Regions from separate parts of the Homo sapiens genome. Here all the other regions are linked to region 1. The links are contacts of gene promoters, found by promoter capture Hi-C in human tissues and cell types (Jung and others, 2019). All regions are on one chromosome and are shown on one strand. Each heading gives the region's core, a stretch centred on a gene start or on the middle of the fragment in contact. The rest is flanking DNA. Distances are from core to core; before and after follow the strand shown. Region 1 holds the start of CHAC1 (ChaC glutathione specific gamma-glutamylcyclotransferase 1). Region 2 overlaps OIP5 (Opa interacting protein 5). Region 3 overlaps RTF1 (RTF1 homolog, Paf1/RNA polymerase II complex component). Region 4 holds the start of NDUFAF1 (NADH:ubiquinone oxidoreductase complex assembly factor 1). Region 5 holds the start of OIP5-AS1 (OIP5 antisense RNA 1). Region 6 holds the start of OIP5 (Opa interacting protein 5).

What was found. The method cuts DNA at HindIII sites, captures the fragments that hold promoters and counts their contacts. A contact is called where the count stands out against the background at its distance.
Region 2: a fragment that was not itself captured here is called in contact with the fragment with the promoter of CHAC1 in region 1 in 2 of the 25 tissues and cell types used here (dorsolateral prefrontal cortex and spleen).
Region 3: a contact is called between a fragment that was not itself captured here and the fragment with the promoter of CHAC1 in region 1, in 1 of the 25 tissues and cell types used here (spleen).
Region 4: the fragment with the promoter of NDUFAF1 here is called in contact with the fragment with the promoter of CHAC1 in region 1 in 1 of the 25 tissues and cell types used here (liver).
Region 5: a contact is called between a fragment that was not itself captured here and the fragment with the promoter of CHAC1 in region 1, in 1 of the 25 tissues and cell types used here (mesendoderm cells).
Region 6: a contact is called between the fragment with the promoter of OIP5 here and the fragment with the promoter of CHAC1 in region 1, in 1 of the 25 tissues and cell types used here (spleen).

What each region holds. Positions count from the first base shown.
Region 1 is chr15:40,951,665-40,954,924 of GRCh38, forward strand. It overlaps CHAC1 (ChaC glutathione specific gamma-glutamylcyclotransferase 1), which reads left to right and starts at 1,807. Exons shown (of 3, transcript NM_024111.6): 1 at 1,807-2,150; 2 at 2,564-2,599. The coding sequence starts at 1,920. RefSeq lists an enhancer at 1,016-1,609 and a silencer at 1,281-1,540. The HindIII fragment of the contact is 19,989 bases long and covers 1-3,260 here.
Region 2 is chr15:41,306,459-41,309,650 of GRCh38, forward strand. It overlaps OIP5 (Opa interacting protein 5), which reads right to left. Exons shown (of 5, transcript NM_007280.2): 5 at 2,815-3,192. It overlaps OIP5-AS1 (OIP5 antisense RNA 1), which reads left to right. Exons shown (of 5, transcript NR_152821.1): 3 at 2,109-2,166; 4 at 2,262-2,383. Among named protein-coding and RNA genes, the nearest start is that of OIP5, 25 kb to the right of the region's middle. The HindIII fragment of the contact is 3,593 bases long and covers 1-3,192 here.
Region 3 is chr15:41,430,925-41,434,070 of GRCh38, forward strand. The region is part of intron 1 of RTF1 (RTF1 homolog, Paf1/RNA polymerase II complex component); the gene reads left to right. Among named protein-coding and RNA genes, the nearest start is that of RTF1, 15 kb to the left of the region's middle. RefSeq lists an enhancer at 851-1,351. The HindIII fragment of the contact is 6,359 bases long and covers 1-3,146 here.
Region 4 is chr15:41,400,230-41,403,785 of GRCh38, forward strand. NDUFAF1 (NADH:ubiquinone oxidoreductase complex assembly factor 1) reads right to left here and starts at 2,267. Exons shown (of 5, transcript NM_016013.4): 1 at 1,915-2,267. The HindIII fragment of the contact is 27,298 bases long and covers 1-3,556 here.
Region 5 is chr15:41,282,693-41,285,803 of GRCh38, forward strand. OIP5-AS1 (OIP5 antisense RNA 1) reads left to right here and starts at 5. Exons shown (of 5, transcript NR_152821.1): 1 at 5-26. RefSeq lists enhancers at 193-934, 2,419-3,111. The HindIII fragment of the contact is 7,739 bases long and covers 1-3,111 here.
Region 6 is chr15:41,331,113-41,334,215 of GRCh38, forward strand. OIP5 (Opa interacting protein 5) reads right to left here and starts at 1,479. Exons shown (of 5, transcript NM_007280.2): 1 at 1,128-1,479; 2 at 803-869. The coding sequence starts at 1,449. It overlaps NUSAP1 (nucleolar and spindle associated protein 1), which reads left to right and starts at 1,769. Exons shown (of 11, transcript NM_016359.5): 1 at 1,769-1,938. The coding sequence starts at 1,846. RefSeq lists an enhancer at 1,233-1,492. The HindIII fragment of the contact is 6,722 bases long and covers 1-3,103 here.

The sequences.
Region 1 (3,260 bases), core at 557-3,056:
TTTTCCCGTATTTTGAATAATTTCCTGAAGGAGTATTGGGTCAAAGGGCAGGGATATTTTGTGATTCTTGACTTGTATCACCAAGCTGCTTTCTCAAAGGGTTGTTTGTGCCAATTCAGATACTTCAGCAATATGTGGATACCAGTTTCCCACTTCCCGGACTACAACCCACAGCTGGTGAGTGGAAAAGAGGACATTCTTCTAAGAAGCTACCAACAAAGGAGGTGCTCATATGAACGAAAGGGGACAGGATAGAAGAGAAGAGGGAGACTGAATGTGGGAAATGGAGAGAAAGCGAAAAAGAAAGGAATAACCAGAAAGGACCATTTGCTGGTAATTTTTTTTTTTTCCTGATTGGAAAAGTAATTCATGCTCCCTGTAAAAATCCAGACTTTTTCATTACTGTTTAAGTTTGATACTGAAAGTCCTCCTCTGGTGCCAGCCTCTGCTAACTGTTTAGGTATATTCTTCCAGATTATTTATTACACGAATACTTTTTGTTTTTAAAGAAATAGCTTTGTACTATACACACTGTTGTGCAAGTTTCCCACTTATATCTGCGACACCTTCGGAATGAATATGTGAAGTGTGAAGATCACGTTTAGTTTAAATATTGAATTAGAATCGAATGAGAAGCCATGTTGCACATTGCCCCTGCCAGCCATCTCCTGGCCAGTTTAGAGAGAAGGCCTTCAGCTGCCTCTGTTTCCCTTTTACAGTCAGTGACATCCCCTGAGGGCAGTCCCTTGCTGCGTATTGGGTCAACCCCCGGCGGCCTGTGGACTCGGCTGGGAGGCCAGAAGCCGAGGGAGAAGACCAGTAGCTGGCCATAGTCTTGTGGGGGCCTCACTGGGCCCTCCTTGCCCGCTGCTCCCGGAACCTTGTGCCTATGGATTAATCATTGCTGCAAAATCTCACGTCCAGGAAGAATTAAACCCATCGCCTTGGGGGCAAGACTAGCCTGGCTTTTGCATCTTTATAGCCTTTCTCCGCAGGTGCAGCCACCACCTCCAAAGTGACTGCCGGTCGGTCCAAGCGCTCTAACAGGCTCTTCCCCGAGCCTACCTGGGCTCGAGGGGTCCCACACCTGGTCCGGGGCGTAGCCCATGTGAGGCCTGCAAGCTCCGGGCGCCTGGCCTACCTAACTCAGCCCCGCAGTCTCTGCAGAACCCCCTGCAGCCCCGTGGCCCAGTTTCTCCATTTGCTCACAATGGCCAACGGCGTGAGGCACTTGAGCGGAATGCGGACGGTGCCTCCGACAGCTTTCCCGCAGTGCATGATCTCAGGAGGGGCCCCAGAGACGGAAGTTTACGACGCCCAGAGCGCTCCTTCTGGACGTGCCCTGGACTCGACTTGGGACTGAGTCTGTGCCGCCTAGGCTGGCAGGGACTCGGCCAGATGCACTAGCGGCAAGGCTGGGCTGACACCGCCTGGGACTCGCTCGCCGTACCTCCAAGGGGCCCAGGTCATGAGGGGGCGGCTGGGGAGACGCCCGCCCGGTGCCCGCCCTGGGCCCGGCGGGTGCCCCCTGCCCGCCGCCTGACGCAATCCGAGGCGCCCTTGCTGCATGCCGGCGCTGGAGAAACCTCCCCTGCCGTTGCATCACTCCTGCCAGGTTTGCCACAGAGGTGGAGCTGAACCAATCAGCGGGCGCGCTGGGCCCGCGGCGCGGTTAAGTGAGAAGCAGAATCCGAAGTTGATTGGCCAAAAGGGGATTTGCCCCACCCCAATCACCGCGGCAGCTGGCCGCGGTGGGCGTGGTCTCCCGGCAAGAAGGTTTAAAGGGCGCCTCCATGGGGGGCGCTCAGCTGGAGCTACCGAGCGGTGCCAGGCCAGGTGTGTGCGTCCGTCGGTCTTTCCGTGCCCACGCCGGAGACCAGCCCCGGAGGCCGCCTGGGCCTATCCCTGTGCCAGGCACCATGAAGCAGGAGTCTGCAGCCCCGAACACCCCGCCCACCTCGCAGTCCCCTACGCCGTCCGCTCAGTTCCCCCGAAACGACGGCGACCCTCAAGCGCTGTGGATTTTCGGGTACGGCTCCCTGGTGTGGAGGCCCGACTTCGCCTACAGCGACAGCCGTGTGGGCTTCGTGCGCGGCTACAGCCGCCGTTTCTGGCAGGGAGACACCTTCCATCGGGGCAGCGACAAGATGGTGAGCATCCAACCGTGCCCAGGGGAGTGAGGGGGTTGGGGGCGGGATACTGGGCGCCAGTGCCCTGGAATGTCCGGGGCTCTCTGGGCCAATAGAAAGAAATGTGTAAACCTGTGTCTGGGGTTTGTGGCTCATTTAAATGTATGTGCCCAGTGCATCACTGTGATGGCTGGAGTCTGTGAACCTGTGGATCCCTGTGTTGATCACCAACTGGGACCACTGACATGTCAGTGTTTCTGGACGTTTCTCCTACATCCGTGCATCGCTCCCCCACCTTCCCCTGCATGAATGGGACTCAGCATGCAGAGTGGGGCACTTGGAGGCCCGGGTCAGCGGGATTGATAAAGGTTTCCTTGCTGATGGCAGAGCTGATTTCTAACTTGTCTATTTCAAAATATTTCTTCCCTCCCTAGCCTGGCCGTGTGGTGACGCTCCTTGAAGATCATGAGGTAAGTGCCCGAATCATGAAGGGGAACCCTGGCCCAGTGTGAAGGGGGACCAGCAGAGAGAGCTCATAGGCTCTTGGCTGCAGGCTAGCTCTGTCTGATGCTTCTCTGGCAGAGTAGAAACGTGTTCTAGCTCAGTGCTTCTCACCAAATCACATGAGGATCTTGTTAGAATGCAGATTTTAGTTCAGTAGCATGAGAATGGGTCCTGAGACACAGCATTCCTAACTAGCTTACAGGTGATGCCACCACATCCTGGACCACACTTTGAGGAGGAATCCTGTCTTCCCTGGTACTAGACCACTTTGTCAACTGTTTTTTTTTTTTGTTGTTGTTGTTGTTGTTTTGTTTGTTTGTTTTTGAGACAGAGTCTTGCTCTGTTGCCCAGGCTGGAGTGCAGTGATGCAATCTTGGCTCACTGCAACATCTGCCTTCCAGATTCAAGCGATTCTCCCACCTCAGCCTCCCGAGTAGCTGGGATTACAGGCATGCGCTACCACACTCAGCTAATTTTTGTATTTTTAGTAGAGACGGAGTTTCACCATATTGGCCAGGCTGGTCTGGAACTCCTGATCTCAAGTGATCTGCCCACCCTCAGCCTCCCAAAATGCTGGGATTACAGGCATGAGCTACTGCACCTGGCCTCAACTATGCCTTTTTTTTT
Region 2 (3,192 bases), core at 456-2,955, 350 kb after region 1:
AAAAAGTTGGAAGCTCTGCACCTGTGTATATATATATTTTAGCAATAAAGCAGCATGGGCTGAGAATGCACTGAAATCTCATTGTGTGTCGTTACTTGAAATGGGTAATTTTAAATAATGCAGTACATACTGATGATGGGAGAAGGAGCCTTTCCAAAGACCTGTGCCAAAGTACTCTTCAGATGTTAAAGAACAAAGGACCAGGTTACTTGAGACCTAGCTGTAGCAGTTTCCAGTGTGTTGTACAATGGAACAGGCAGCCATTCAAACCTCAATATGTAATGCTGCTTTTACAGCCATAAGGAGTTTTGGAATACTTTTTCTAACATATTTGTAATTGCCTTTATTTTGTGTCTCTGTGTATCCACATACATGGAGTTTAATAATAGTATTCATTGAGCACCAACTATGTGATAAGCACTGCTCTAATTACATTAGATGCATTAATTAACTCATTTAATGCTCACTACAGCTCTAATTACTATAGTTTTTATCCCTATTTTACATAGAAGGAAATTAAAACAGATAAATTGTTCCAGTTCATGGCTAGTAAGTACCCAAGCCACAGTTTCAATCCAGTTTGGTTCCAGAGCCTGCTCACTTACCAGGATGCTATATTGTGCTTCTCAAAAAATAGAAAGGGAAGAAGTATACTTTCACTCTGTATTTTGTCACACATCTCTTTTTTCTAGAGTGAGCATGTAATCTGAAAAAAATCTATTTAAAGCTAGCCAGTTTAATTTGACGTAAAGGTCAAGCATTTAATTTTATTTATTTATTTATTTAGAGACGGAGTCTTGCTCTGTCGCCCAGAGCAACCAGGGGTGACTCAATGTGGTACTTATTAGGTCTTTTTTTTTTTTTTTTGAGACGGCGTCTCACTCTGTCACCCAGGCTGGCATGCAGTGGCATGATCTTGGCTCCCCACAACCTCTGCCTCCCAGGTTCAAGCGATTCTCCTGCCTCAGCCTCCCGAGTAGTGGGACTACAGACACACGCCACATGCTCAGCTAATTTTTGTATTTTTAGTAGAGACAGGGTTTCACTATGTTGGGCAGGCTGGTCTGGAACTCCTGACCTCGTGATCTGACCGCCTTGGCCTCCCAAAGTGCTGGGATTACAGGCGTGAGCCACTGCACCTGGCCTATATTAGGTCTTATTCTTTAAAAAGTAAAAGCTTTTATTGGGCTGGTTTTTGCCAGAAAGCATCAACCTTGCTTATAGGACCAAATTTTTGCAACTCTACGCATAATCAGACCTGGCACAATGGCTCACCGCTGTAATTCCAACACTTCAGAAGGCTGAAGTGAGGATCCCTTGAGCCCAGTTTGAGCCCACAGTGAGGCCTTGTCTCTACAATTTTTTTTTTTTTTTTAATTAGCCAGGCGTGGTGACACAAACCTGTGGTGCCAGCTATTCAGGATACAGTTGGGAGGATCACTTGAGACCAGGAAGTCAAGGCTGCAGTGGGCCATGTTCACACCTCTGCACTCAGGCCTGGGTGACAGAGTGAGACCCTGTCTCACCACCCTCCCCTCAAAAAAAGCATAAGCAGGCCAGTCGCAGTGGCTCACGCCTGTTATCCTAGCAGTTTGGGAGGCCAAGGTGGGTGGATTTGCCTGAGCTCAGGAGTTCGAGACCACCCTGGGCAACACGGTGAAACCCCGTCTCTACTAAAATACAAAAAATTAGCCGGGCGTGGCGGCATGCACCTGTAATCCCAGCTACTCAGGAGGCTGAGACAGGAGAATCGCTTCAACACTCGGGAGATGGCAGTTGCAGAGATCAGGCCACTGCACGCCAGCCTGGGCGACAGAGCAAGACTCCATCTCGGGAAGAAAAAAAAAAAATTTATATATATATATTCTGCTAGCTACATCCCAGCCAAGTTAGCTTTTCTATCCTCCACCACTTGGATATGTAATTTCTTGATTGTGCTAGTGCCAAAGGCTCTCCTTAGTGGTCTGCTTGCTGTCCTTCCCACCTGTTTTCCACAGGACAACCACAGTGACATTCTGAAAAAGTAAATTTGATTAGGCAGGCCTTCTTTTAAGGACCTCATAAAGGTCATCCCTCCATCACCTTATTAATTCCTATTCGTCTTTCAGACCACCGCTGAAACTTCACTTCTACACAGAGGCTTTCTTTCCCAGAAACCCAGACCAGGTCAGTTACCTGCTTTATGTGCGTGTATCCCTATGTTCCTTTACTTCAAAACCCTTACTAGCGTCATAATTTTACATATCTTTTTTTTTTTTTAGATGGAGTTTCACTCTGTCGCCCAGGCTGGAGTGCAGTGGCACGATCTCGGCTGACTGCAGCCTCTACCTGCTGGGTTCAAGCAATTCTTCTGCCTCAGGTTCCTGAGTAGCTGGGATTACAGGTGCGCACCACCATGCCTGGCTAATTTTTGTATTTTTAGTAGAGACGAGGTTTCACCACGTTGGCGAGGCTGGTCTTGAACTCCTGACCTCAAGTGATCCACTGCCTCGGCCTCCGAAAATCTGGAATTATAGATGTGAGCCACTGCGCCAGGCCTGTAATTTTATGTATCTTTATGTGATTATTTGAATGTCCCTCTCTGACTAGATTATAAATTCTAAGGATAGTGTGTCTATTTTTGCTTACCTTTTATCCCCAGCACCTAGTCTAACACTTTACAAATATATATTAAATTAATATTTTGATAAGTTACTCAAAGTGCTACATAAAACAAAATTATAGAAAATAGTACTTTGGTAACTGTTTCGTTTTATCATTGCTTTCATTATTTCTCTGTTAACCTCAGTTTACAACTGAAAAAGACAAATTGTATATTATTCAGGCAATTTATTAAACATTACCTATAGAATATTATGATCTGTATTTTACAGAAGTTAAAAAGTGATGTATTAGTATTCATAACAACTGCTCCATGCAGGAGTAATAGAAGTCAACATTAAGCCCAACTCTATTTTCAGACCAACCATGCAACTTTAGATCAGAGGACACATGGGACTCTGCATCTTAATTCCTAAATTTACAGTCAAAGACATTTTCAGAGATAAGTATTATGAATTCAATAAGAATCTAAAGTAAGTTCTTAAGGCAAATAGCTATAAAAGAGAAGAATCCTTAGTCTCTCATCTTCTAAAAACAGCTTCACAAATAATTTGGAAAATCAGCCTAAAGGTAAATAGAAACTGCATTTCC
Region 3 (3,146 bases), core at 415-2,914, 480 kb after region 1:
CAGAGTCTTGCACTGTCGCCCGGGCTGGAGTGCAGTGGTGTGATCTCGGCTCACTGCAACCTCCACCTCCTAGGTTCAAGCGATTCTCCTTGCCTCAGACTCCCAAGTAGCTGGGATTACAGGCGCCTGCCACCATGCCCAGCTAATTTTTTTGTATTTTTAGTAGAGACGGGGTTTCATCATGTTGGCCAGGCTGGTCTTGAACTCCTGACCTCGTGATCTGCCCACCTTGGCCTCCCAAAGTGCTGGGATTACAGTCGTGAGCCACTGCGTCCAGCGGGTTTTTCTTTTTTCTTTTTTTTTTTTTGAGAAGGAGTTTTGCTCTTGTTGCCCAGGCTAGAGTGCAGTGGTGCAATCTCGGCTCACTGCAACCTCTGCCTTCTGGTTTCAAGCAATTCTTCTGCCTCAGCCTCCCAAGTAGCTGGGATTACAGGCGCCTGCCACCACGCCCAGCTACTTTTTTTGTATTTTTAGTGGAGACAGGGTTTCACCATGTTGGTCAGACTGGTCTCGAACTGCTGACCTCGTGATCCACCTGCCTCGGCCTCCCAAAGTGCTGGGATTACAGGCGTGAACCACCGCGCCCGACTGGGTTTTTCTTTTTAAGGCAGTGTCTTGCTCTATTTCCCAGGCTGGAGTGAAGTGGTTCACTGCACTCTCAACCACCCAGACTCAAAACAATTCTGCCTCAGCCTCTTGAGTAGCTGAGACTATAGGCATGTGCCACCACACCTGGCTGAGTTTTTGGATTTTTTGTACAGACGGGGTTTCACCACATTGCCCAGACTGGTCTCGAATTCCTGGGCTCAAACGATCAGCCCTCGTCGGCTTCCCAAAGTGCTAGGACTACAGTTGTGAGCCAGTGTCCCTGGCTCATACTTTTTTTTTTTTTTTGAGACGCAGTCTCCCTCTGTTGCTCAGGCCAGAGTGCAGTGGCACGATCTTGGCCCACTGCAACCTTCACCTGCCAGGTTGAAGTGATTCTCCTGCCTCAGCCTCCCGAGTAGCTAGACTACAGGTGCACGCCCCCATGCCTGGCTAATTTTTTGTATTTTTAGTAGAGACGTGGTTTCACCATGCTGGCCAGGATGGTGTTGAACTCCTGACCTTGTGATCCGCCCACCTCGGCCTTCCAAAATGCTGGGATTACAGGCATGAGCCACTGTGCCTGGCCATACTATTGTTAATATGGTATTTAATGTAGTAGAAGAGGGATTGTACTTATCAGATGCAGTTGTTTGTTGATGAAGGAGAGCTGTTTGTTAGGTTTTCTTTTTTTTTTTTTTTGAGATGGAGTCTTGCTCTGTCACTCAGTCTGGATGGAGTGCAGTGGCACAATCTCGGCCCACTGCAAGTTCCGCCTCCCGGGTTCACGCCATTCTCCCACCTCAGCCTCCGGAGTACCTGGGACTACAGGCGCTCGCCACCACGCCTGGCTAATTTTTTGTATTTTTAGTAGAGACAGGGTTTCACTGTGTTAGCCAGGTTGGTCTTGATCTCCTGACCTCGTGATCCACCCACCTCAGCCTCCCAAAGTGCTGGGATTACAGGCGTGAGCCACTGCGCCCGGCCTAGGTTTTCAGTATGTAGAGCGGAACCTCCTTAACAGGAAGGCAGTACTAATGTCTTAACACTTCAGTTACAGTAACTTTTAACAGATGTCTACTATGGTTTGATTGATAGCAAATCCAAATTTCTCTTATAACGAATTGGTATTAAAACAGGCATACTAGGCTGGGCATGGTGGCTCACACCTGTAATCCCAGCACTTTGGGAGGCCAAGGCGGCGGCTCACCTGAGATCAGGAGTTCAAGACCAGCCTGGCTAATGTGGTGAAACCCTACTTCTACTAAAAATACAAAAAATTAGCCAGGTGTTGTGGTGCACACCTGTAATCCCAGCTACTTGGGAGGCTGAGGCAGGAGAATTGCTTGAACCAGGAGGCCGAGGTTGTAGTGAGCCGGGATCGCACCATTGCACTCCAGCTTGGGCAACAAGAGTGAAACTCCGTCTCACAAAAAAAAGAAAAACAAACAGGCATACTGAGGTCGGCTGCGGTGGCTCACACCTGTAATCCCAACACTTTGGGAGGCTGAGGTGGGCAGATCATCAGGAGTTCGAGACCATCCTGGCCAACATGGTGAAAACCTGTCTCTACTAAAAATACAAAACTATTAGCTGGGTGTGGTGGCGTGCACCTATAGTCCCAGCTACTTGGGAGGCTGAGGCAGGAGAATCACTTGAACCAGGGAGGCGGAGGTTGCTGTGAGCCGAGATCACTCCACTATACTCCAGCCTGGGAGACATAGTGAGAGTCCATCTCAAAAAAAATAAATAAATAAAAATATAAAACTGGCATAATAATGCATTTGTGAAACTGAAGGGGTCAGAGAAGAGATTACTTACCAGAAGTCTTTTTTGCCTTTTTGAGACAGAGTCTCACTCTGTTGCCCAGGCTGGAGTGCACTGGCATGATCTTTGCTCACCGCAACCCCCACCTCCCAGACTCAAGTGATTCTCCCACCTCAGCCTCCTGAGCAGCTAGGACTACAGGCGTGCGCCACCATGCCCAGCTGATTTTTGTATTTTTAGCAAAGATCAGGTTTCACCATGTTGGCCAGGCACACCTCAAGTGATATACCTGCCTCAGCCTCCCAAAGTAGTGGTATTACAAACGTGAGCCACTGCACCCAGCCCAGAAGTCTTTAAAGCTTATAAATTTACATTAAAGTAATATGGGAAAAAAGGTAATGGTAAAGACCATAAACGTATTACTATATAACCCAGCAATCCCAGTCCTAGGTATTTACTCAAAGTGAAGTAAAAACTAATGTTTACATAGAAGACTATACATGAACATACAATTACCCCCAAATGGTAACAACTCAGATGTTTTATTGTTGTTGTTTGCTACCACACTTTTTTTTTTTTTTTTTTTTTGATGGAGTTTTGCTCTTTTTGCCCAGGCTGGAGTGCAATGGTGCTATTTCAGTTCACTGCAACCTCTGCCTCCCAGGTTCAAGCAATTCTTCTGCCTCAGCCTCCCGAGTAGCTAGGATTACAGGCATGCACCACCACGCACAGCTAATTTTTTATTTTTAGTAGAGATGCGGTTTCTCCATGTTGGTCAGGCTGGTCTCGAACTC
Region 4 (3,556 bases), core at 1,017-3,516, 450 kb after region 1:
GTGTGGTGGCGCACAACTGTAGTCCCAGCTACTTGGGAGGCTAAGGCAGGAGAATAGCTTGAACAGGAGGTGGAGGTTGTGGTGAGCCAAGATCACGCCATTGCACTCCAGCCTGGGCAACAAGAGCAAAATTCCATCTCAAAAAAAAAAAAAAAAAAATAGAGATGAGGTCTTGTTATGTTGCTCAGACGAGTCTCTAACTCCTGGGTTCAAGTGATCCTCCTGCCTCAGCCTCTGGAGTACCTGGGATTACAGGCGTGAGCCACTGCACCTGATGAATACCACTCCTAATACTTTTTTTTTTCTTTTTTGAGACAGAGTCTCACTCTGTCACCCAGGCTGGAGTGCAGTGGCACGATCTCGGCTCACTGCAAGCTCCGCCTCCCGGGTTCACGCCATTCTCCTGCCTCAGCCTCGCGAGTAGCTGGGACTACAGGCGCCCGCCACCATGCCCAGCTATTTTTTTTTTTTTTTTTTTTTTGGATTTTTAATAGAGACAGGGTTTCACCGTGTTAGCCAGGATGGTCTCGATCTCCTGACCACGTGATCCACCTGCCTTGTTCTCCCAAAGTACTGTGATTACAGGTGTGAGCCACCATGCCCAGCCTACTCCTAACACTTTCATATCACCCTGATATATATTATCTCATGCCATCCACACACAAATCCTATGAAACAAGTCAGATACGTATTTCCTTTCTGTAGGATACAGACACCAATAGGTAAAATGACATTATCAATACTTTTTTTTTTTTTTGAGACGGAGTCTTGCTCTGTCACCAGGCTAGAGATCTCCGCTCACTGCAATCTCCGCCTCCTGGGTTCAAGCGATTCTCTTGTCTCAGCCTCCTGAATAGCTGGGATTACAGGCGGGCGCCACCATGCCCGGCTAATTTTTGTTTTTGTTTTTGTTTTTTCAGTAGAGATGAGGTTCCACTATGTTGGCCAGAGTGGTCTCGAACTCCTGACCTCAGGTGATCCGCCTACATGGGCCTCCTAAAGTACTGGGATTACAGGCGTCAGCCACGGCGCCCAACCTTTTTTTTTTTTTTTTTTTTTGAGATGGAGTCTCGCTCTGTCACCCAGGCTGGAGTGCAATGGCACGACCCTGGCTCACTGCAACCTCCGCCTCCCGGGTTCAAGTGCTTCTCCTGCCTCTGCCTCCCGAGTGGCTGAAATTACAGGTGCCCGCCACCATGCCCAACTTTTTTTTTTTTTTTTTTAAGACAGAGTCCAGCTCTGTCCCCCAAGTTGGAGTGCAGTTGTGCGATCTCGGCTCATTGTAACCTCCACCTCCTGGTTTCAAGCAATTCTCTTGCCTCAGTCACTGGGATTACAGGCGTGCGCCACCACGCCCAGCTAATTTTTGTATTTTTAGTAGAGACAGGGTTTCACCATGTTGGCCAGGCTGGTCTCGAACTCCTGACCTCAAGTGATCCGCCCGCCTCGGCCTCCCAAAGTGCTGGGATTACAGGCGTGAGCCACCGCGCCCAGCCGACATTATCAATAAGGTTTGTTGATAAATCAAAACCATGTAAACAGTATGTTTTCACATGTATTATAAACGTTAAGGGAACCAGGAAAAATTAACAGTTGATCTGAGGTCCCGGAATTATGGATAATATTTAAATTCCCCCGCGCCGGTTGCACTTAAATGATTTTACCTCTACACATACCGAAATTTGAGAAACAAATGATAGCTCATAAAATGTTTTCCAAACCCTCCGTAGTGTTACTTCTCTAATAATATAACTTTAATTATAAATGCTTTGTTTCATTTTTTTTTTTCTACCAGTAAACAGAAAATCTAAACTATTAACTGGACAATACCGCCCTGAGGTTGACGGTGGGTTTTGACAACACAATCCACGCAGCTAGAAGTGAGTAGAATTAGTAAAGCTATCCATGCCTTACCATGTGCCAGAAACTGCTCTAAGTGTTTCACTGACGGCTCACAACAATCCTGAGAGAGGTACTATTATTATTTCAATTATAGAGACGAAGAAACTGACGTTCCAAGGCTAATTTACCCGAGGTCACACAGGTAGTGAGTGGCAAAATTCTTCCGCCTTGGCGTATACCTCCCGCACTCACGGCCTGGCCTCCGGAGGCTAGACGGTTCGCCGCGCTGGGGAGGCCCCCTCAACCCTCAAGTGCCAGGGCTCTGTCGCCTCCCCACACCCGGGACACACCAACCGCCGGCCTGCCGCCGCTTACCTCCCCGAGCCTATAGTGTACCTTCCGCCCAGAAGCCACTTTACCCGTATAGGTCCATCTGCTTTTCCCTTCCGATGCCAAACAAGGCGTCAGAACACCAAAGTTCCGGCCGAGTACAGAAGCCCAGGAAGGACAGCAAGGACCCCGTAGCCCAGCCAACTGAGGTTTTTGGAGGTTTTTGGTCCACTTGGTCGCCAGTTGTAAGGAAGCAGTGAGAATTCAGATAAGTTTTTCGCCTCTCCTTCCTGTATCCTTTCAGGCGGCAAACTCCATCCCTGCGTCTTTTTTTTTTTTTTTTTTTTTGAGACGGATTCTCGCTCTGTCGCCCAGGCTGGAGTGCAGTGGCGCGATCTCGGCTCACTACAACCTCTGCCTCCCAGATTCAAGCGATTCTCCTGCCTCAGCCTCCCGAGTAGCTGGGATTACAGGTGCGCGCCATCATGCCCGACTAATTTTTGTATTTTTAGTAGAGACGGGGTTTCACCATGTTAGCCGGGATGATCTCGATCTCCTGACCTCGTGATCCACCCGCCTCGGCCTCCCAAAGTGCTGAGATTACAGGCGCGAGCCACCAAGCCCGGCCCCCTGCGTCTTTCAAATAGAACCCAGTTATTGCTAACGCGCCTGTATCCCTTCCTTCCTTATCTGTCGCCTCGGTCCCCACAAGAACTGCCTGAGGCCTCAAAAGGCCGATTCTGCTGGAATTGCCCCCATGAATTCTTGAGGACCACCACGCACCTGGACAGCAGCCCCTCCTACCAGCCCTTCCCGAGTCTCGCCCCACACGGTCGCCAGTTGCTCAGGGCATCTGTTTGTACCTTGTGCACACCTCTCTTAAAGCACTTTTTTTTTTTGAGACGGAGTCTCACTCTGTTGCCCAGGCTGTAGTGCAGTGGCGCGATCTGCAACCTCCGACTCCTGGGTTGGAGCAATTCTCCTGCCTCAGCCTCCCAAGTAGCTGGGATTACAGGTGTGTGCCACCACACCCGGATAATTTTTGTATTTTTAGTAGAGATGGGGTTTCGCCATGTTGGCCAGGCTGGTCTCGAAATCCTGACCTCATGATCCACCCACCTCGGCCTCCCAAAGTGCTGGTATTACAGGCGTGAGCCACCATGCCCGGCCAAAGCACTTAAACATTGTTTGTTTTTGTTTTTTTTTCTTACTGCCAGGGAAGACAGAATCAACATTGTATCTTTCACTCACTTCTCACTTCCTTTGCCACGCTGTGAGCTTTCTTGGGTCCAGACTGCGCTGTTTTTCCTTTCCCCAGAATGTACCATAGCGGCGGGAATTTAGTGCTTAGTGTGAATTTGAGAGCATATAGTTCCGTAACACC
Region 5 (3,111 bases), core at 539-3,038, 330 kb after region 1:
TGAAGAGACCACCAAACAGGCTTTGTGTGAACAACAAGCCTGTTTATTTCACCTGGGTGCAGGTGGGATGAGTCGGAAAAGAGAGTTCAGCAAAGGGTGGTGGATTATCATTAGTTCTTACAGGTTTTGGGATAGGCGGTGGAGTTAGGAGCAATGTTTTGTGGGCAGGGGGTGGATCTCACAAAGTACATTCTCAAGGGTGGGGAGAATTACAAAGAACCTTCTTAAGGGTGGGGAGATTACAAAGTACATTGATCAGTTAGGGTGGGGCAGAAACAAATCACAATGGTGAATGTCATCAGTTAAGGCTATTTTCACTTCTTTGTGGATCTTCAGTTGCTTCAGGCCATCTGGATGTATACGTGCAGGTCACAGGGGATATGATGGCTTAGCTTGGGCTCAGAGGCCTGACACCTGCCCCTCTGGGAAATGATGCAGAAGAAAGGATGCCCTACAGTTGGGTGTAGCAAACAACAAAACTGCCAGTTACAGCAGGTTTCCTCTATGCAGGAGGGCCTTCAGAAAAGTGACGAATCCTTCTCTCCTGTATTGACCAAAGCTGTAAACAGCCGGACAACGTTTGGGCCCTTTAAGAGTCAAAGACAGAGACAAACTGGAAGCATTAAATTTTTTCCCTAGGTGTTGTGCTACCCCTGGATTAAAAGCCTGGGCGCGGTGGCTCATGCCTGTAATCCCAGCACTTCGGGAGACCGAGGCGGGTGGATCACCTGAGGTCAGGAGTTCGACACCAGTCTGGCCAACGTAGTGAAATCTCGTCTCTACTAAAAATACAAAAATTAGCTGGGTGTGGTGGCATGCGCCTGTAGTCCCAGCTACTTGAGGGGCTGAGGCAGGAGAATCGTTTAAACCCGGGAGGCGGAGGTTGCAGTGAGTCAAGATCGCGCCACTGCACTCCAGCTTGGGCGACAGTGAGAGACTCTGTCTCAAAAAACAAAACAAAACAAAAACCCTCGGGCCTGAGAATGAAATTATTAGTACTACAGTTTAACCTAACAGTGGCTTAAAATAGTCACGCGGCCTAGCCACACTATCTTACCACGTGGTACAGCTTCTACGGCGGAAATTTTACATTCTTAATAATTGAATTACAAAAGCATTTCTCCCTGTTACCTCAATTCTGGGACCCAATCCGGATCGAAAGAGTGGGGCGAGTGCTATTGATTGACGTGCATTCCAACCAACCTACGACGCAAGGAGAGCGCGCGCGAGCAAGACGATGCCCAATAAACACTCAGCCCCAGCGGCGGGGGCGGGGCTTGTGGGAACGGCCCACCGCAGGGTTGGCCACCTTGAGAAGCTGCGAAGATGGCGGAGTAAGGCGTGCCGCTGCAAACTGGCCTCTGGGCCGGGGGCGAGCAGCCCCCGGGAGGCCGAGTGCATCTGTTGGACCGTGCGAGGTGAGCCGAGAAGGCCAGTGACGGTGGGACGAGCAGGCGCCGAGGAGGTGGCGTGGCCCAGACGGGCCGGGTACGGAAGCGCGCAGGAACCTGCGAGTTGCGGGCAGCCGGCCTCGGCCTCGGCTGGGCGGGGGTTCCAACCTCGGCGGCTCCAGGGCAGCCGTCACCCGCCTTCTGGGTGTGTTGCACGGCCCACCCCTCAGCCCGTCTCGGTCCTTCCCAGTGCCGTGCCTTTAGCCACCTTTGTGCTTTCTGCTTGCACCCACACGGGGCTGTATCTGGCAGCCGCTGCTTCTGCCATCGATTTATTTTTCGAAGAATATCTTTGTTTTATTGATTTACTTATACCCCTCGCCTTAGGACTTCGTTCCCCCTCTTTGCCCGTCAGCGGTATCAGTTGAGGCCTGTTGTGGCTCTGAGTATTTTGTGTCCCCAGCCCGTTGACCTTGAGACTTGTAACAGGTTTCCCTTGGGAATTGCATTCGGGTGTGTTTATCGCGGACACCCTGGTGCAACTTTTACTAAAGCCGTCCGCTCCCACTCCCACCTCCCAAACTTTTATGATCTGAGTAAGCGGTTCTGGCACTGATGTCCTGATAACGTTCTAATGGCGCATTAATTTTGGCTGATGCCAGGGTCTTGATAGAATTCACCGTTTTTGGTTTCCGACCCAGAAGTACAGGAGTTCAGTGTACAATATTGTTTTTATAGAGACAGAATGATAGGGAAATGTTATTAGAACGTAGTTTGTGTAAAGTGGTGGGGTTGCACAGTGTCAACACTGAGGCATTTGGTATTCTGTTCTCCTTTAACCGAACGGGTTGTCTCTTTTGGTAATTTGGATTGTTGTAACCTTACCCTCATCCGGTCTCTCAGGTAAGATTCTAGGAAAGTTCCTGTTACTAGGTTTCTGAATTGGTGTGGCCTGTTTAAAACTGGCACATTAGTTAAGTTCCAACGGACACACCATTAGACAAATGAATGTTTTTGGGTATGCTCTTTGTTGGCCCTGGATTTGCTAGAGCTGAAAAATAATACAGAAGGACTTTTATATGAGACCTTTTTTGTCGCTCTGTCAGTTTATTTTTTGTTTTTTTGTCTTTGTCTCATCCAGGAGAAGAAAAAAAATATCGGCCAGAGGAGAGGAACTAACCGAACATTCTTCCTCCCTACCTTATAGAGGGGAGTGGTCATCTACACTAAAGCAAAGTGTTAGGCGCGTCCGTGCGAAGAGACCACCAAACAGGCTTTGTGTGAGTAATAAAGCTATTTATTTCACCTGGGTGCAGGCGGGCTGAGTCCAAAAAGGAGTCAGCAAAGGGAGTTAGGGGTGGGCAGTTTTATAGGATTTGGGTAGGTAGTGGAAAATTACAGTCAAAGGGGGTTGTGTTCTTGCGGGCAGGGGTGGGGGTCACAAGGTGCTCAGTGGGGGTGCTTCTGAGCCAGGAGATGGAATTTCACAAGGTAATGTCATCAGTCAAGGCAGGAACTGGCCATTTTCACTTCTTTTGTGATTCTTCTGTTGCTTCAGACCATCTGGATATATACGTGCAGGCTTGGGCTCAGAGGCCTGACACAAAGGTCTTAAGTAGGGGTCCATAAACTACTGGAAATTTTATGCACAATTATACATTTTTGTGGGAAGAAGAAGGTCCATAGTATCAGATTCTCAAAGAGGACACTGTTTCATAAA
Region 6 (3,103 bases), core at 229-2,728, 380 kb after region 1:
TAACCGTAACGTTGAATCAAACTGGTCAGAATGAAATGAATTGTCTCAATGTTAAAGCCAAAACTCAAAATTGAGGAGCCTTGCAATACCAAATTCACTGACTACTTTATTGTCACTTGTAAATCATAGTACAGGCAGGTCGCAAAGTTTACCAGGCAGTATTCAAGTACATAACATTCTAGTTGTGTTTTTCTCCAGTTTCTGGGGTTACTGAAGAATTAGCCCTGGCATAGCTTATTACAAACTAACCATAATCGCAAACTTAAAAGTTCTAATATCAAGCGTGGGCAACATACTAAGGCCTCTACAAAAAATTTAAAAATTAGCCGGGAGTGGTGCTGTGTGCCTGTAGTCCCAGCTACTCCGGAGGGTGAGGTTGGGAGGATAGCTTGAGCCAGGAAGGTAGGGGCTGTAGTGAGCTATGAGCGCACCAGTGCACTCCAGCCTGGGCGAGAGCAAGACCCTGTATCAAAAAGTTCTAATATCTAAAAGGATTGTAGTTTATAGTATGTTATTCTCACTGTAAACCAAAAGGTTATTTTTTTCTTTTGTCCACTACTAGATACATCTTTCTTAGCCTCACTTCACTTGTACAAGCCACCTGGGAGAAGTGGCCCTCAGGAAGATCCTAAAACCAATACACAAATACAACTTTTTCATTTCATTAATACATCAAGTTCATATAAGAGTCAAACAGGTAAAAGCAGCATCCCAAACTGTTTTCTCCTCGTACATGTCAGTTCCACGATCCTCAGTCTCATAAAGTCAGGGACTAGAGACCAATGTAATTATCAATACGTACCTGCCTTTGAGTGAACCTTCAATGCCAACTAGGAAGGGCGCTTCCAAAACGACGTTATTTGTAACTCCTAGGAAGACAAACACGGGTCAGAACCCATACTCTGCGGGCCTTGAAATGGAAAATCTCTCCTCTAGACAGACTCATCCTGGCCGTAAATATCAGGAGACTCCCCGATTCCCTGCCCCATCCCCAGGCCAAGGAGTTATTTGCTTCCAACTTTTCATCCCGTTTTCTTCCCCAGGTGGTTCTCCGCCACCCGGTGGAGAAAGCGGGAACACCCTCTCGGGCTAGCCTCTGCCTTTCCCGAACGCTTCACTGCACTCACTGGAGAAGACCACGGCCCCGAGGGACCGCGACAGGTCCCAGGCGAGGTGCACCGAGTCGGCGAGCACTGCGTGACACTGTGCGCACTGGAACACAGCGCACCTCTCAGGCTGCAGCCAAGACGGCAGCTGCGGGCCGGCGGCTGGCTCCTCAGCCCCCAGCCCTGCGGGGCCGAGCGGCGAGGACCCCTTCACCACCTGCGTATCCCACTCCATGGAGGTCGTAAAAGAAGCTTGGTCAATCGCCCTCTCAGTGCCACCACAAAAGTCCCCCCGGGGCGGCGTTGCACAACGTGAGCGATGCCGCAGCGGCTGAGCCGCCATCTTCCCGCAGCCGGCGCCTTCCTTTCGAATACACGCCAGGCCCCGCCCCAAGCACAGCTCCTGCGTCCTCATTGGACATCATGGGCAATCCAAGCACTGGAGTCCGAGTCCGCGCACTCGTTACCTGAACAGGCGTTACAGGCCCTTTGGCGCCTGCGTATTCGTGAAGTGTGAAAAAAGCGCGCCTCTGTTGGGACGGGAAATCAGCCTTTCTATTGGTCAGGGTTAGAAACCCCGCCTTTGAGGCATTTTCAACCAATGGAAGCGCGGCATTCTTCATTTAAACTGTCTATAAATTTCTGCCTAGTCAAAGTTAAGAGTGGCGCCAGGGATTTGAACCGCGCTGACGAAGTTTGGTGATCCATCTTCCGAGTATCGCCGGGATTTCGAATCGCGATGATCATCCCCTCTCTAGAGGAGCTGGACTCCCTCAAGTACAGTGACCTGCAGAACTTAGCCAAGAGTCTGGGTCTCCGGGCCAACCTGAGGGTACGGCGCTGGCGGTGCGGGTCCCTGGGCGGGCGCGGCGGGAATAGCGGCCTCGGGGAGATGCGGTGCGAAGGGACCGAGAGGGAAGCCCGGGACTGAGGCAGCTCTCCCTGCCCCTCGGGCAGTAGATGTGGTTCACGGTAGTCCCAGTTAGAACTCTGATAAACGGAAGAGGAACTGTAGTTTTCACCTCATTTTGAAGCTGGCTTGTCTGGGTGCTCACATGATAAGCTCTATTCCGAGGGATGGTTTATTGTTTTTTGTTTTGTTTTGTTTTGAAATTACTGTATACCTCTCAGGGCGTCGATTACGAAACTCAGGCCCAGAAAGCACAAGGGGTGTCGTTAATCGTTAGACAATTAAGTAAATAATTGGCTCAGCTTCTGGAAAACCCCAAACAGACTCCAGTGATTTGTAATATTGCCGATAATCTCTTGATACTTTATTGATGGACCTGTCAGAAAAAAAAAATCGACTTTTAGGGGAGCACCTCCTTGGGTAAATTTTTATTGATGACTGTTGGGTTGATGGTCTCTATCAAAACCAGTAAGGTCTTTGACTCCGAGGCTACAAGATGTTTGGAGAGTTGGCCCGGCGCTGTGGCTCACGCCTGTAATCCCAGCACTTTGGGAGGTCGAGGCAGGCGGATCACCTGAGGTCAGGAGTTCGAGACCAGCCTGGCCCTTAAAAAATTAGCCGGGCGTGGTGGCACACGCCTGTGATCCAAGCTTTTTGCCTGTGATCCCAGCTACTTGGGAGGCTGAGGCAGAAGAATCGCTTGAACCTGGGAAGCCGAGGTGGCAGTGAGCCAAGATCGCACCACTGCACTCCAACTTCGGTGACAGAGAGAGACTCAGTCTCAAACAAAACAAAAACAAACAAAAAACCCAAGATGTTAGAAGAAGATTTGGGGATTTAATGTAGGATAGCGGTTTTATATATTTTGTTAATAGTTGAGACTTCCCACATAATACTGCTATATACTCTGGAGGTTTCTCCTGCAGGCTGTGATACTGACAGTGAGTAAATGCTTAAATCAATCGTCACAATTTTTTTTTTATTTGTTTGTTTGTTTGTTTTTTCTTTGAGACGGAGTCTTGCTCTGTCGCCCAGGCTGGAGTGCAGTGGCGCCATCTCGGCTCACCGCAACCTCCGCCTCCTGGGT